5 separate regions of the Homo sapiens genome follow, and all the other regions are linked to region 1. The links are contacts of gene promoters, found by promoter capture Hi-C in human tissues and cell types (Jung and others, 2019). All regions are on one chromosome and are shown on one strand. Each heading gives the region's core, a stretch centred on a gene start or on the middle of the fragment in contact. The rest is flanking DNA. Distances are from core to core; before and after follow the strand shown. Region 1 holds the start of SPNS1 (SPNS lysolipid transporter 1, lysophospholipid). Region 2 holds the start of KCTD13 (potassium channel tetramerization domain containing 13). Region 3 overlaps MVP (major vault protein). Region 4 holds the start of C16orf54 (chromosome 16 open reading frame 54). Region 5 holds the start of SPN (sialophorin).

Region 1 (2,733 bases), core at 60-2,559:
AAAAGAAAGAAAGAAAAAAAAAAAGAGTTCTTTACATGGATACAAGTCCTTTGGCAGATAGATGCTTTGTAAATATTTTCATTCAACCTGTGGCTTGCCTTTTCACTTCAGAGGTGCAATTTACAATGCGTATCACTCTCTAGATAAGCTCCACGAGGGAAGGGAGTAAGTCTGCCTTTCCCTGAAACCTGGTAAAATGCCAGGCACATACATGTTCAATAATATCTTGTTGAGGGAATTAAATGCCTGCAACCTGAAGTTCCTGTCCGCCAGGGGAAACCAAGCTTAAGGTTCTGAAACACGAGGCACCTAATATGGGGGGGGGGGGGGGGTTAAAGCCAATTATGGGTATTCGGACTCGAAATAGTTTCTAACAAGGCGTTTTGGGGTTGGGGGATGCTCTCCCCACGAGATTCCAGGATTTCAGTAGAGGGCCTTTAAGGGCTGGTTGAAAGATGGGTCTTGAAGCTGTATTTGCACAGAACTATACTAATTTTACTTAGAGTGCTTTATTAGATGTAGCTTGGAGATTATAGGGTGCCACTAAAGAACCACTCCCAAGTTATCCCTTTGACCCTAGTCCTGCAGCTGGGAGTCTCCTTAGGCTAGGAGCTCCTGCCTGCCCTACAAAAGCCCACCGGAGGGCGCAAGGGCTCCAATCCCGATTGGAGTGAGGAAAAATATGCTCCAGGAGCGGCGGGTGGAGACGCTTCCTTTAATAGGTATTTAAGTGTCCACGGTGAAGGCTCAGGAGTTTACAAGGCTAGCAGGGTTGGGGAATCTCAACAAAGGGCGGGGCGTTGCTCAAGCTCCATCCGTCCGTCCGTCCATCCCTCCGTCCCTCCAATCCTCCATCCATCGCGCTGCTCAAGCTCCATCCATCCATTTATCCATCCATCCATCCATCCTTTATTGAGAGTAAAAAGCCGCCAACCAGACCCTGGGAGGAAGACAGGATGGTTCCCGAGAACTAGGGCTGCTCCTTGGCTTTTAGAGGTATCTACTACTTCCAAAACCTTTTGAGACCCCATTATCCCGTTTGATGAAGATGGAGTCTGCCACGTGGGGGTTCCAGATAAGACAGCTGAGATTCGGAAGGGCAGGCGACTCCACCTAGTCACGGGGACGCTCTTTTTGACGCTCCAGGGACCGCAGGGTCTGGGAAAGTTCCTGGTTACTCCGGCGACCGGCCGGCCGTCACATGACATGTGAGCCCGGGCGGAACGCCCAAGAGGCTTCCGTAGTCGGGTGGCAGGTCACGTGTCGAAGGCTTGCCCGCGGGGACCCCTTCCACCCTGGCTCCCGCGTCACATGACCGGCTTTAAGCAACATGGCGGCTGCCGTGGTGCAGCGCCCGGGCTGAGCGACAGCAAGTGCAGCGGGCTCCTACCCCGGGTGAGGGGTGGCCTCCGCGTGGGATCGTGCCCTCTTCAGCCCGCTCCTGTCCCCGACATCACGTGTATTCCGCACGTCCCCTCCGCGCTGTGTGTCTACTGAGACGGGGAGGCGTGACAGGGCCCGGGTCCCTTCTCAGTGGTGCTCTGTGCTTCAGGGCAAGCTCCCCGTCTCCGGGCGCACTTCCCTCGCCTGTGTTCGGTCCATCCTCCTTTCTCCAGCCTCCTCCCCTCGCAGGTGGGATCGTCGGTGGGACCGGAGCGCGGGCGGGCGCGGCCCCCCGGGACCATGGCCGGGTCCGACACCGCGCCCTTCCTCAGCCAGGCGGATGACCCGGACGACGGGCCAGTGCCTGGCACCCCGGGGTTGCCAGGGTCCACGGGGAACCCGAAGTCCGAGGAGCCCGAGGTCCCGGACCAGGAGGGGCTGCAGCGCATCACCGGCCTGTCTCCCGGCCGTTCGGCTCTCATAGTGGCGGTGCTGTGCTACATCAATCTCCTGAACTACATGGACCGCTTCACCGTGGCTGGTAGGGACTCACTTCTGGGAGGAAGATAGTCTAGGAGAGGGGAGCCAGGGTCCCGAGGGTGGCGCTGCTTTGCCGGACCATCCTGAATTTTCTCCTCAGGCGTCCTTCCCGACATCGAGCAGTTCTTCAACATCGGGGACAGTAGCTCTGGGCTCATCCAGACCGGTGAGTGGGGACCACTCCTGGTCACACAGCCGCTCCTCCTTCTGTTCTGTCTCAAGTGGGGCCACGCGCTGGCCTGTCTAGGGGCTCATTAATGGAGGTTTTGTGGCCAGTTAGGGGAGGTGATGGCCCTGATGTTGCTCGGGGGTCAGCGGGACACCACATTTAAAGAGGGAGTCAGTTTAGTATAACTAAGTATAACTTCACCCAGGTGAAGACAGACCTGGGTTTAAATCTCAGCTCTTCCACTTATTGTGTGATGGTAGGCAAGGCACTCAACCTCTCTAAGCCTCATTTTCCTTGTCTATAAGATGGAACAAGTAATAACACGAATCATCTCTTAGGACTGATGTGAAGATTAACTAAAAGATTGTCTGTGAAGGGCCTAGTGCAGTGTTTGGCACATGGTAGACACCCAGTAAATAATGGCAGGAGGGTTGGGTGTGGTGACTCACGCCTGTAGTCCCAGCACTTTGGGAGGCCAAGATGAGTGGATCACTTGAAGTTAGGAGTTCAAGACCAGCCTGGTCAACATGACGAAACCCCATCTGTACTAAAAATACAAAAATTAGCCAGGCATGGTAGCGAGCGCCTGTAATCCCAGGTACTTGGGAGGCTGAGGCATGAGAGTTACTTGAACCCGGGAG
Region 2 (2,733 bases), core at 155-2,654, 950 kb after region 1:
GATTCTCCTGTCTCAGCCTCCCGAGTAGCTGGGCTACAGGCGCACACCACCACGCCCGGCTAATTTTTGTATTTTTAGTAGAGACGGGGTTTCGCCATATTGGTCAGGCTGGTCTCGAACTCCTGACCTCAGGTGATCCACCGCCTCGGCCTCCCAAAGTGCTGGGATTAAAGGCGTGAGCCACCGCACCTGGCCGAATTCTTCACCTTTGATACTTGAAGGCAGATCTCCGCCTCTCAAATTTTTATTCTCCTGCTCTCACAGTCCTCGTTAACCCCTCCCTTAAGACTCTCCCACTCCCAAACTCCAAAACTTCAAAGTCTCACTTGGGCACGAAGGGTCCATACTTGAATGCAACACTCCAAGAAGGTAAGGTTCACCTGCCAAGGAGACCTGTCCACCCTCCACTCTGGTGTCCCTGGCAAACCCAAAGCAGCCTCCTTCTGCAATGTGTGTATACAGGTGGATTCCTAGAGTGTACAGGGACCTGTGTCAGGGGAACACAGAGGCAAACAAGATCTCCCAGCTCTCCTGGCTGGCTGTGAGCAGTTCTGAAGCAGAGAGGGAAACAAAAGGCTGGGCAGTCGGAAGAAACTGAGGAAGGCTGCCAGGAGTAGTACTGCAGGCAGCAGGGCTAGTTCCCAAGTCTTGAGCTGAGGGGTGAAGGGTGGGAGAGGTGGTCATGAGGATTATGAACTGACACGTTCAATCACTTACCACAGCGCCTGGCAGTTAGGGGTTCCGTAAGTGTTGGTTATTGCTGGGGGTAAAGGATTGGGGGAGGAGAAGAGAAATTATGAATGAGAAAGGGGAGGAGATGGGATGTGGGGGCTGGAGGGAGCTGAGAATGAGTTGACTGGACAGTAGCGGGCAGAGAGAAGGGGCATGAGGAGCCCCGGTGGTGAGAGACTGCGGGGAACGGGAGTTGGGGGTCTGGGGTGGGGGCACGGTAGGGGCGCCGCTCGTACCTCCGGCATCGGTCAGCACCTCCACGCGGCCGCTGAACATGGCTTTGAGCATGGTGTCCTGTCCCGTGAGGGTGCGCAGCGTGGTGTAGTGCAACGAGCCGCCCACGTTCAGCTTCACGTATTTGCTGTTCGGGGTCAGCGGCTTGAGACCGTAGGCGGCGGGGCCAGGCTCGAGACCCGAGGGCTTGGGGGCTTCCAGGGACGGGGCCGCGGCGGCAGCCGGGCCCGAGGCCTCCGCCGACATGCCGGGTAGCAGCGGCGGACGGCGATCCCAGGATCTCTCCGCGCCCTGCGGCCTGCTCCCGAAGACCCTCGGCCGGCCCCCAGCCCTTGGGCCAGACCGCTCGGCGCACACGCCCACTCACCGCAGCTACTCTGCAAGACCGGCCCTCCGCCCCATCTCGCTCGCACCACCCGGAAGCCGGCGCCGGGCAGCTGCGCAGGCGCGGCCCCGCCCCTGAATGGGGGCGGGGCTGCGAGTATGGAGCATGCGCAGTGGCCTCGCTGGGGGATCCCGTAGAGGTTTGGCGTGTGGCCTGCGGGTTCCCCGGGCGGGTCGACGTGCGCTCCTCTCTGGTCTCGAGTCACCAGGACCAGATCGAGGATGCGGCCGACCCCCTGCCCGATGTGGAAAGCGAAGTCTCCACCTCGTGATTGGGTCTCTGCTGTCAGAGAGCTTCACGAGCTTGAGGGGAAACAGACAGAGAGGTCTGGGCATTGGGCAGTTTCCCGCCTCCCAGCCCCGCGCACTGAACAGACTGTGACCAGAACTGCGAACAAAGCGCGGAGGGAAGCTCTTAAAGGAGGCCAAAGCGGCCGGGCGCTGTGGCTCACACCTGTAACCCCAGCCTGTAAGCCTAGCTACTCGGGAGGCCGAGGCAGAAGGAGCGCTTGAAGCCAGGAGTTGGAAGCTGCAGTAATCCGTGATCGGACCGTTGCACTCTAGCCTGGGCAACATAACGTCCTTTGAAAAAAAAAAAAAAAACAGAGGCCAAAACGGGTAGCAGTGGTGCCCGGGCACCAAGGATGGAAGGCCTCTCTGAGGAGGTGATGCCGAGCTGAAGCTGGGAAGCGGATGTGAGGGAAGAGTTCCAGGCAGAGGGAAGGCAAATGCAGAGATCCTCAGGCAGGAACACTGAACTGTTCTCCGTATTTGAGGAGCAGAGGGCGTGTCAGTGGTGGCCGCAGCAGCTGAGCAAAGGTCTTAGAATCCCAGCTAATGTCGTGGGACCTAGCACCCAATCCCAAAAGAAAGAAGAATAGATAGGAACCCACTGTTGACAAGAAGGTGCACTGAGAAGTGTTTTTATCTGACCCGATCTGCATCCAGTTTAGAAGCCGATACATCAGGGATTTAACAATCTGTCTTAATGTCTAGCAAGGGGGGTTGCTGGAGGGAAAACACAGAGTCAGAGTTCTATCTTCAGCCCTGCCAGCAGGTCCCTGGGAGATGCTAGACGAGTGACTTTTCTCTGGGCGTGGTTGGTGTAAGGGATGCACACGCAGGAGGAAGGTCGGAGTGTAAATGTGTGACCTGGGCCTGTTACTGGGTATAAATGGGCCTGTAGTGACCGGGAGCTCATGTTCTACCAAAGGGGTTGCCAATTTTCTGATTTCGAGTGTGGCGGTGTAAAAGAGAAAAGCAACTGCTGCCAGCTGGGAGCTGGTTTGCACCCTCACTCCAGAAGCCTTGATGTTGCTAGGAGCTGACCTGGCACCAACAGCACGGCCATGGTGGTGTCCTGTTGAGCAAAATAATTTCACA
Region 3 (2,733 bases), core at 170-2,669, 860 kb after region 1:
CTCACCAAGGGTGGAATTGACTCACTGTACCTCCACTCACCTCCAGCCACCCCCATCCTCCACACATGCCCCAAACACACCTGCCTCTTTTCTGAGAACTGTTGGCCCATCTCACCTTCCCAGGCTCCAGAGCCTACCAGAAGTGCCCAGCCAGTCTGGCATTAAATGACATGTGCCAAGGTTAAGCAGTTCATTCACCCGGTGCCAGACACTGGTGGGCAGTGCCAAAGCAGCAGTGACAAGCCCAGGCCCCAGGCTGTGCCTGTTCTAGGAGAAGCCATCACAGGCCTGAACCTACAGCCAGGCTCTTGTCCCCGTTGGCCTCAGGCCTGGGCCTGAGCAGGTGGGTGTCCCACCTTCATTCCTTTACCTGTTCTTCCACCTTTACCTTCTGGCCATTTAATGGTTTTGGGTTTTTTGTTTGTTTGTTTGTTTGTTTTTAATAGAGACGGGGTTTCACCGTGTTAGCCAGGATGGTCTTGATCTCCTGACCTCATGATCCGCCCGCCTCGGCCTCCCAAAGTGCTGGGATTACAGGCATGAGCCACCGTGTCCAGCCCCATTTAATGGTTTTCTTACTGACTTTACTAACCAGTGCTGCTTGATCCTGAAAGCATAATAGCAGAACATGGGGAACTTTTAGAGACATTCATGTCCACTTAGGTGCAGACAGTTTGGGGGAAGAAGTGTGTGTGTAGAGAGAAAATGAAGAATGATTAAGACAATAACCCTTAAGGAATCCAAGTGAAAAGTATATAGGGATTCTTGTACCTTTTTTTTTTTTTTTTTTTTTTTGAGATGGAGTCTCACTCTGTTGCCCAGGCTGGAGTACAGTGGCATAATCTCGGCTAACTGGAAGCTCTGCCTCCCAGGTTCACGCAATTCTCCTGCCTCAGCCTCCCGAGTAGCTGGGACTACAGGCGCCCACCACCACACCCGGCTAACTTTTTGTGTTTTTAGTAGAGATGGGGTTTCACCGTGTTAGCCAGGGTGGTCTCGATCTCCTGACGTCATGATCCACCTGCCTTGGCCTCCCAAAGTGCTGGGATTACAGGCGTGAGCCACCGCGCCTGGCCTTTTTTTTTTTTTTTTTTTCTGGATCTCCCCCTGTTGCCTAGACGAGAGTGCAGTGGGGTGATCATAGCTCACTGCAGCCTCAACCTCCTGGGCTCAAACGATCCTTCCACCTCATTCTCCCAAAATGCTGGGATTGCAGGTGTGAGCCACCAAGCCCTGCCTAAGCTTTCATTTTAAATATGTTCAGCCGGGCACAGTGGCTCACGCCTGTAATCCCAGCACTTTGGGAGGCCAAGGTAGGCAGATCACTTGAGGTCAGGAGTTTGAGACCAGGCTGGCCAACATGGCGAAAACCCATCTCTACTAAACATACAACAATTAGCCAGGCGTGGTGGCATGCGCCTGTAATCCCAGCTACTTGGGAGGCTGAGGCATGAGAATTACTTGAACCTGGGAGGCGGAGATTGCAGTGAGCTGAGATTGCGCCACTGCGCTCCAGCCTGGGTGACAGAGCAAGACTCTGTCTCAAAAAAAAAAAAAAAAATTAGCTGGGGGTGGTGACACACCTGTAATCCCAGCCACTCAGGAGGCTGAGACAGAAGGATCACATGAGCCTGGGAGATTGAGACTGTTGTGAGCCATGGTTGTACCACTGCAGTCCAGCCTGGATGACATAGGAAGACCCCATCTCCAAAAATAAAAAAAAGCCAGCTCTTCCTTTGAGCCCCAGTTTCAGTTCAAAGGGCCTTCTCTAACTTCTCCTTCATCTGAACTCCTGAGACAGGGTCTTGCTCTGCTGCCCAGGCTGAAGTGCAGTGGTGCAGTCATAGCTCACTGAAGCCTTAACCTCCTGGGCTCAAGTGATCCTCCCACCTCAGCCTCCCGAGTAGCTGGGACTACAGGTGTGCGCCGCCACCATGCCTGGCTACACTTTTTTTTTTTTTTTTTTTTTTTAGAGATGGGATCTTGCTATGTTGCCCAGGCTGGTTCTTGAATGTCTGAGGTCAAGCAATCCTCCTACCTCAGTCTCCCAAAGTTCTGGGATGACAGGTGTGAGCCACTGTGCCCGGCCTCCACCCCAGTCTTATTTCAGGACATACAGAGATGGATGTTGTGGACCCGCCTCCAGAGCATCAGGCTTGGCCCTGGGGTCACAGCACTGATGGTTCTGTGTCTCCACCTTCTTCCCCACTAGGACATCACACCCCTGCAGGTGGTTCTGCCCAACACTGCCCTCCATCTAAAGGCGCTGCTTGATTTTGAGGATAAAGATGGAGACAAGGTGGTGGCAGGAGATGAGTGGCTTTTCGAGGGACCTGGTAAGTTCTGTCTCCATAGGGCTCCCTGCCTTCCTGTCATAGCCCTGATACCTTCTGACCATCACCTTCCCTCCCCAGGCACGTACATCCCCCGGAAGGAAGTGGAGGTCGTGGAGATCATTCAGGCCACCATCATCAGGCAGAACCAGGCTCTGCGGCTCAGGGCCCGCAAGGAGTGCTGGGACCGGGACGGCAAGGAGAGGGTGACAGGTGGGGTCACCAAGGGGCGATGATGGTGGGTGGGCAGGAGGGGTCCCCACTGCAGGGGAAGCAGGGGAAGGTTGAGGAAAGCCTCCTGTAGCCCCAGAGAGGCGCTTTCCTGGTATCTTTTGAAAGCTGTTGAGGGCCACCCACTGCTCTTCCTTCCCCACCCCCGCTTCATGCTGTTTCCACTTGG
Region 4 (2,733 bases), core at 119-2,618, 770 kb after region 1:
AGGCTCAGGGGCCCGATCTGTCAGCAGGGGGACCGCAGAGCCATACCAGTCCTCAGAGCGCTCTCGGGCGGTGCCCATGGGCTCAATCCACAGCTCTCCTCCTGGGCGCCACACCAGGGTGGGTGCACGGTGGCTGGGGTCTGGGCGGAGAGCACGGCGGAACAGGCGTTCAGCCAACACAGCGGTGGTGAGGATGAAGAGCGCAGCCAGGGTGGCCAGGACCAGCATGATGGGGATGCAGGGCCCACAGGGCAGTGAGGGCCATGGGGCTGCTTCCCATGCGGGGGGCCCCTCCACGCGCCCAGAGGGCGGCTCTGGAGTCAACGGCATCTGAGAGACACAGGGGTGAGAAGAGGAAGTAAATGAGGCAGAGGGGGCACAACCAAGATGAGAGAGAGGCAGCAGGTGTCCAGGAAAGCCTGGGAGAAGGGCTGGGCATGGGGGCTCATGCCTGGAATCCCAGCACTTTGAGAGGTCGAGGCGGGAGGATCACTTGAGCCCAGGAGTTCAAGACCAGCCTGGACACACAGTGAAACCTCATCTCTAAAAATAATTTAAAAACTAGCTGGGTGTGGTGGCTCACACCTGTAGTCCCAGCTACACAGGAAGCTGAGGTGGGAGGATTACTTGAGCCCAGGAGTTTGAAGCTGCAGTGACCCCAGATTGCACCACTGTCCTCCAGCCTGGGCAATAGAGCAAGACCCTTTCTCAAAAATGAAAAAGAACATTCTGGAGAGACAGAGAAGCAAGAGGGACCAGAAAGGGTAAGCGTGAGCCAGGTGGGGTGGGAGGACAGGCAGCCTACCTCGGGGCACAGCCAGGCCCTCCTGCCTGGCTCTCCAGGCCTTTCCAGAATCCCCATTTCCCTCCCAGACCCCAGGGTGCCTCAGACAAGAAAGGTCTCAAGGGCTTCTTTCCTCCCCACTCGGCCCCCTCAAGTCTTGCTCAGACCTAGAGAGGAAGTGGTGGGTGAAGAAATGAGAACCTCCCCTCCCACTGGCTCCCCTGCGTGTGTCTCCCCCACCGCCTGCCGCCAGCACCTCCGCTGGCCCCTTGAGGCTCCTTCGCCCCTCACCATTCTCCTCGGACTTGATCTTGCTCTCATAGGCTCCACGGAATCTGCTGCCGGGCCGGGCCGGGCCAGGCCTCCGGAGGCGCCTCTGCACCCCTCCTGGGCTCCCCAGCTTTGCCCAGGCTCTGGCCTGTCTCTATCTCTCGTTTGTCTCTGCACACCTCTCTGTCCCCCACATCCTCCATCTGCAGGGGGCCTCCTGCACCCCTCAACTCACCTTGGGTCAGTCCCTGGGCTCCTCTCCCTCCTAGAGCCACTCTTCCTGGTGCTGGACTAAGAGGTGCAGGCTTGGAGGGTGCAGGGCGGTCCGCCTCTCAGACGTAGAGGCCCGGCCTCGGATGAAGGCGGAAGGGAGGGCACCGCCTGTTGCTGGGCAACTGTGCCCCAACTCGTCTGCCCCTGGGGAGTGTTTGTTTCCAAAGCAACCCAAGGGGATGTGGTCACTGCGGTGAGGAGGCTTTTCCTGGGGTAAGGTGGGGCTGGAATGGGCAATGGTTCTGTTGAACTTAGTGTCACCCCATAGCCAGGCCCTGAGCCCCAGAACATTCACCGAAAAGCTGAGAAAGAGGACGCCGGGGCCAGGCACAGTGGCTCACCCCTGTAATCCCAGCATTTTGGGAGGTCAAGGTGGGCAAGTCACCTGAGGTCAGGAGTTCGAGACCAGCCTGCCAACATGGCGAAACCCCATCTCTACTGAAAAATACAAAAATTAGCTGGGCATGGTGACGGGCACTTGTAATCTCAGCTGCTCAGGCGGCTGAGGCAGGGAGAATCGCTTGAACCCGGGACTCGGAGGTTGCAGTGAGCTGAGATCGTGCCACCACACTCCAGCCTGGGCAACAGAGTGAGACTCCGTCTTAAAAAAAAAGAAAAGAAAAGAAAAGAAAAAGAAATAGGACACTGGGACTTTAGCCCGTACATTCCCAGAGAACCATGGTGCCTCCCCCGTTCCTCCTGGGAGGATGCCCCACCCCATCCTGCCTTGTCTTATCCACGGTGCCTCCCCAGATCTGCTCCTGCCATGCAGCCCCCACAGGCACCCCCTGCTTGGCCAGCTTGCTTCACACCTTTTTTTTTTTTTTCTGGTAGAGATGGGCTCTTGCTATGTTGCCCAGGCTGGTCTCAAGCTCCTGGCCTCAAGAGATCCTCCTGCCTCAGCCTCCCAAAGTGCTGGGATTACAGGTGTGAGCTACCACACTGGCCCCTGCCTCATACTTTTAATTAACATAAGTCTCTCTCTCTTCAGACCATTTAGCCCCCATTTTGGTTGGAAAATATCAGTGAGGTGAGGCTTGGGTAACAAAAATGTCAAGCCTCTGAGAGGAGTCCAGGGTATAAAAACAGGCGTGGGCCTGTTTCCAAAACCCTGACCATCCTCATGTCTGTCCCTCTTTCCTGCTGCTGAGGGTGGGAGGAGCCTGGAGCAGAGTGTGACAAGATGTCATCAGGCTCTGGAGTCCAGGTGACTTTCTGAGATTCTCTAGTTTGACTCATCCACAGATGACAAAAGTAAGGCTTAAAGAAAAGAGATTTCATGACCAAAGTCGCATGACCAATGTATGTGTGGGTGAGCATGTAGTGGCCAGGGTGGTGGAAGAATAGATAGAAATCCCTGGGCTGGGCGAGGTGGCTCATGCCTGTAATCCCAGCACTTTGGGAGA
Region 5 (2,733 bases), core at 113-2,612, 690 kb after region 1:
CTCTCACCCAGGAGTCTCATGTCTTTGGGTCAGACAAACTCATCAGCTTGTAGAAATGGCACAGTCCCACGGGCCTGTTAGAATCTTCTATTGTGCACATGTTGCTCTTAAAATATACAAATCAGTTTTGATTTTAAAAAATTATTTATTTTTTTAGTGATAGGAGTTTTGCTACGTTGCCCAGGCTGGTTTCAAACTCTTGGGCTCAGGAGGTCCTCCCACTTTGGCCTGGACTGCCAGCATAATGTATCACCACACCCGGGACTGATTTTCGTTTTTCAAGAACAAAAACCAAAAACATACACAAACCGAGAGTCAAAGCTTGCTAATTAGAGGAAAGTCAGGAAATGGGAACCATTCAAAGAAGAAAATACCCCCACCTCCTACTCTCACCTATCCAAAGACAATTAGGTGAATCCCTTAGTAGATATCTTTCCAGACGGTTTTCCATATAGATTCCCATATCTGGCCAGGCGCGGTGGCTCACACCTGTAATCCTAGCGCTTGGGGAGGCTGAGGCGGATGGACCACCTGAGGTCAGGAGTTCGAGACCAGCCTGACCAACATGGAGAAACCTCGTCTCTACGAAAAATACAAAATTAGCCGGGCACAGTGGTGCAAGCCTGTAATCCCAGCTACTCAGGAGGCCGAGGCAGGAGAATTGCTTGAACCTAGGAGGCAGACATTGTGCTGAGCCGAGCCAAGATCATGCCATTGCACTAAACTCCGCCTTAAAAAAAAAAAAAAAGATTCCCACATCTTTACTAGTTTGCAGAAATAAGATCCTAGCATATGCAGTGTGTAGGAACCACCTTGGTTTAGCCACGTCTCTGTGACTGGGGGCCACTGTGGTGACCCCCAGCTCCCCGGACAGAGTCAAGAGCTCACCAGCCTGCAAAGGTTTTCACGGCCCCCAGCCAGACTCGGGGGCTTCCTCTTGCCCTGCTACTTCCTGGGAGCTCTGAGGGCAGGAAATGGCGCCACTCAGCTCCTGGCCTAACAGCTTGGGGACCACAAATGCAAAGGAAACCACCCTCCCCTCCCACCTCCTCCTCTGCACCCTTGAGTTCTCAGGCTCACATTCCCACCACCCACCTCTGAGCCCAGCCCTCCCTAGCATCACCACTTCCATCCCATTCCTCAGCCAAGAGCCAGGAATCCTGATTCCAGATCCCACGCTTCCCTGCCTCCCTCAGGTGAGCCCCAGACCCCCAGGCACCCCGCTGGCCCCTGAAGGAGCAGGTGATGGTGCTGTCTTCGCCCAGCAGCTGTGGGAGCAGGCGGGTGGGGCAGGATGGAGGGGTGGGTGGGGTGGGTGGAGCCAGGGCCCACTTCCTTTCCCCTTGGGGCCCTGTCCTTCCCAGTCTTGCCCCAGCCTCGGGAGGTGGTGGAGTGACCTGGCCCCAGTGCTGCGTCCTTATCAGCCGAGCCGGTAAGAGGGTGAGACTTGGTGGGGTAGGGGCCTCAGTGGGCCTGGGAATGTGCCTGTGGCTTGAAAAGACTCTGACAGGTTATGATGGGAAGAGATTGGGAGCCATTGGGCTGCACAGGGTCAGGGAAGGCCAGGAGGGGCTGGTCACTGCTGGAATCTAAGCTGCTGAGGCTGGAGGGAGCCTCAGGATGGGGCTGATGGGGGAGCTGCCAGCATCTGTTCCTCTGTCATTTCTGATAACAGTAAAAGCCAGCATGGAAAAAACCGTTAAACCGCAGGTTGGGCCTGGCCGTTGGCAGGGAAGTGGGCAGAGGGGAGGCCCGGCCAGGTCCTCCGGCAACTCCCGCGTGTTCTGCTTCTCCGGCTGCCCACCTGCAGGTCCCAGCTCTTGCTCCTGCCTGTTTGCCTGGAAATGGCCACGCTTCTCCTTCTCCTTGGGGTGCTGGTGGTAAGCCCAGACGCTCTGGGGAGCACAACAGCAGTGCAGACACCCACCTCCGGAGAGCCTTTGGTCTCTACTAGCGAGCCCCTGAGCTCAAAGATGTACACCACTTCAATAACAAGTGACCCTAAGGCCGACAGCACTGGGGACCAGACCTCAGCCCTACCTCCCTCAACTTCCATCAATGAGGGATCCCCTCTTTGGACTTCCATTGGTGCCAGCACTGGTTCCCCTTTACCTGAGCCAACAACCTACCAGGAAGTTTCCATCAAGATGTCATCAGTGCCCCAGGAAACCCCTCATGCAACCAGTCATCCTGCTGTTCCCATAACAGCAAACTCTCTAGGATCCCACACCGTGACAGGTGGAACCATAACAACGAACTCTCCAGAAACCTCCAGTAGGACCAGTGGAGCCCCTGTTACCACGGCAGCTAGCTCTCTGGAGACCTCCAGAGGCACCTCTGGACCCCCTCTTACCATGGCAACTGTCTCTCTGGAGACTTCCAAAGGCACCTCTGGACCCCCTGTTACCATGGCAACTGACTCTCTGGAGACCTCCACTGGGACCACTGGACCCCCTGTTACCATGACAACTGGCTCTCTGGAGCCCTCCAGCGGGGCCAGTGGACCCCAGGTCTCTAGCGTAAAACTATCTACAATGATGTCTCCAACGACCTCCACCAACGCAAGCACTGTGCCCTTCCGGAACCCAGATGAGAACTCACGAGGCATGCTGCCAGTGGCTGTGCTTGTGGCCCTGCTGGCGGTCATAGTCCTCGTGGCTCTGCTCCTGCTGTGGCGCCGGCGGCAGAAGCGGCGGACTGGGGCCCTCGTGCTGAGCAGAGGCGGCAAGCGTA

The links. Contacts are between HindIII fragments. The study calls those that stand out against the background at their distance.
Region 2: the fragment with the promoter of KCTD13 here is called in contact with the fragment with the promoter of SPNS1 in region 1 in 2 of the 25 tissues and cell types used here (hippocampus and lymphoblastoid cells).
Region 3: a contact is called between a fragment that was not itself captured here and the fragment with the promoter of SPNS1 in region 1, in 1 of the 25 tissues and cell types used here (dorsolateral prefrontal cortex).
Region 4: the fragment with the promoter of C16orf54 here is called in contact with the fragment with the promoter of SPNS1 in region 1 in 4 of the 25 tissues and cell types used here (dorsolateral prefrontal cortex, mesenchymal stem cells, pancreas and 1 more).
Region 5: the fragment with the promoter of SPN here is called in contact with the fragment with the promoter of SPNS1 in region 1 in 4 of the 25 tissues and cell types used here (H1 embryonic stem cells, IMR-90 fibroblasts, aorta and 1 more).

The regions. Positions count from the first base shown.
Region 1 is chr16:28,973,469-28,976,201 of GRCh38, forward strand. It overlaps SPNS1 (SPNS lysolipid transporter 1, lysophospholipid), which reads left to right and starts at 1,310. Exons shown (of 12, transcript NM_032038.3): 1 at 1,310-1,924; 2 at 2,024-2,089. The coding sequence starts at 1,684. RefSeq lists enhancers at 1,047-1,166, 1,247-1,356, 1,455-1,624, a cis regulatory region at 1,540 and a silencer at 1,577-1,666. The HindIII fragment of the contact is 29,978 bases long and covers 1-2,733 here.
Region 2 is chr16:29,924,822-29,927,554 of GRCh38, forward strand. It overlaps KCTD13 (potassium channel tetramerization domain containing 13), which reads right to left and starts at 1,405. Exons shown (of 6, transcript NM_178863.5): 1 at 969-1,405. The coding sequence starts at 1,212. It overlaps KCTD13-DT (KCTD13 divergent transcript), which reads left to right and starts at 1,402. Exons shown (of 3, transcript XR_001752362.2): 1 at 1,402-2,733. RefSeq lists a silencer at 1,071-1,310. The HindIII fragment of the contact is 18,228 bases long and covers 1-2,733 here.
Region 3 is chr16:29,831,521-29,834,253 of GRCh38, forward strand. MVP (major vault protein) reads left to right here. Exons shown (of 15, transcript NM_005115.5): 4 at 2,213-2,336; 5 at 2,415-2,546. Among named protein-coding and RNA genes, the nearest start is that of MVP, 12 kb to the left of the region's middle. The HindIII fragment of the contact is 4,346 bases long and covers 1-2,733 here.
Region 4 is chr16:29,744,622-29,747,354 of GRCh38, forward strand. It overlaps C16orf54 (chromosome 16 open reading frame 54), which reads right to left and starts at 1,369. Exons shown (of 2, transcript NM_175900.4): 1 at 1,290-1,369; 2 at 1-330. The coding sequence starts at 330. LOC124903673 (a long non-coding RNA gene) reads left to right here and starts at 626. Exons shown (of 2, transcript XR_007065046.1): 1 at 626-764. RefSeq lists enhancers at 1,659-1,708, 2,236-2,305. The HindIII fragment of the contact is 21,250 bases long and covers 1-2,733 here.
Region 5 is chr16:29,661,885-29,664,617 of GRCh38, forward strand. SPN (sialophorin) reads left to right here and starts at 1,363. Exons shown (of 2, transcript NM_003123.6): 1 at 1,363-1,432; 2 at 1,811-2,733. The coding sequence starts at 1,845. RefSeq lists enhancers at 78-127, 768-847 and silencers at 1,028-1,087, 2,348-2,467. The HindIII fragment of the contact is 34,536 bases long and covers 1-2,733 here.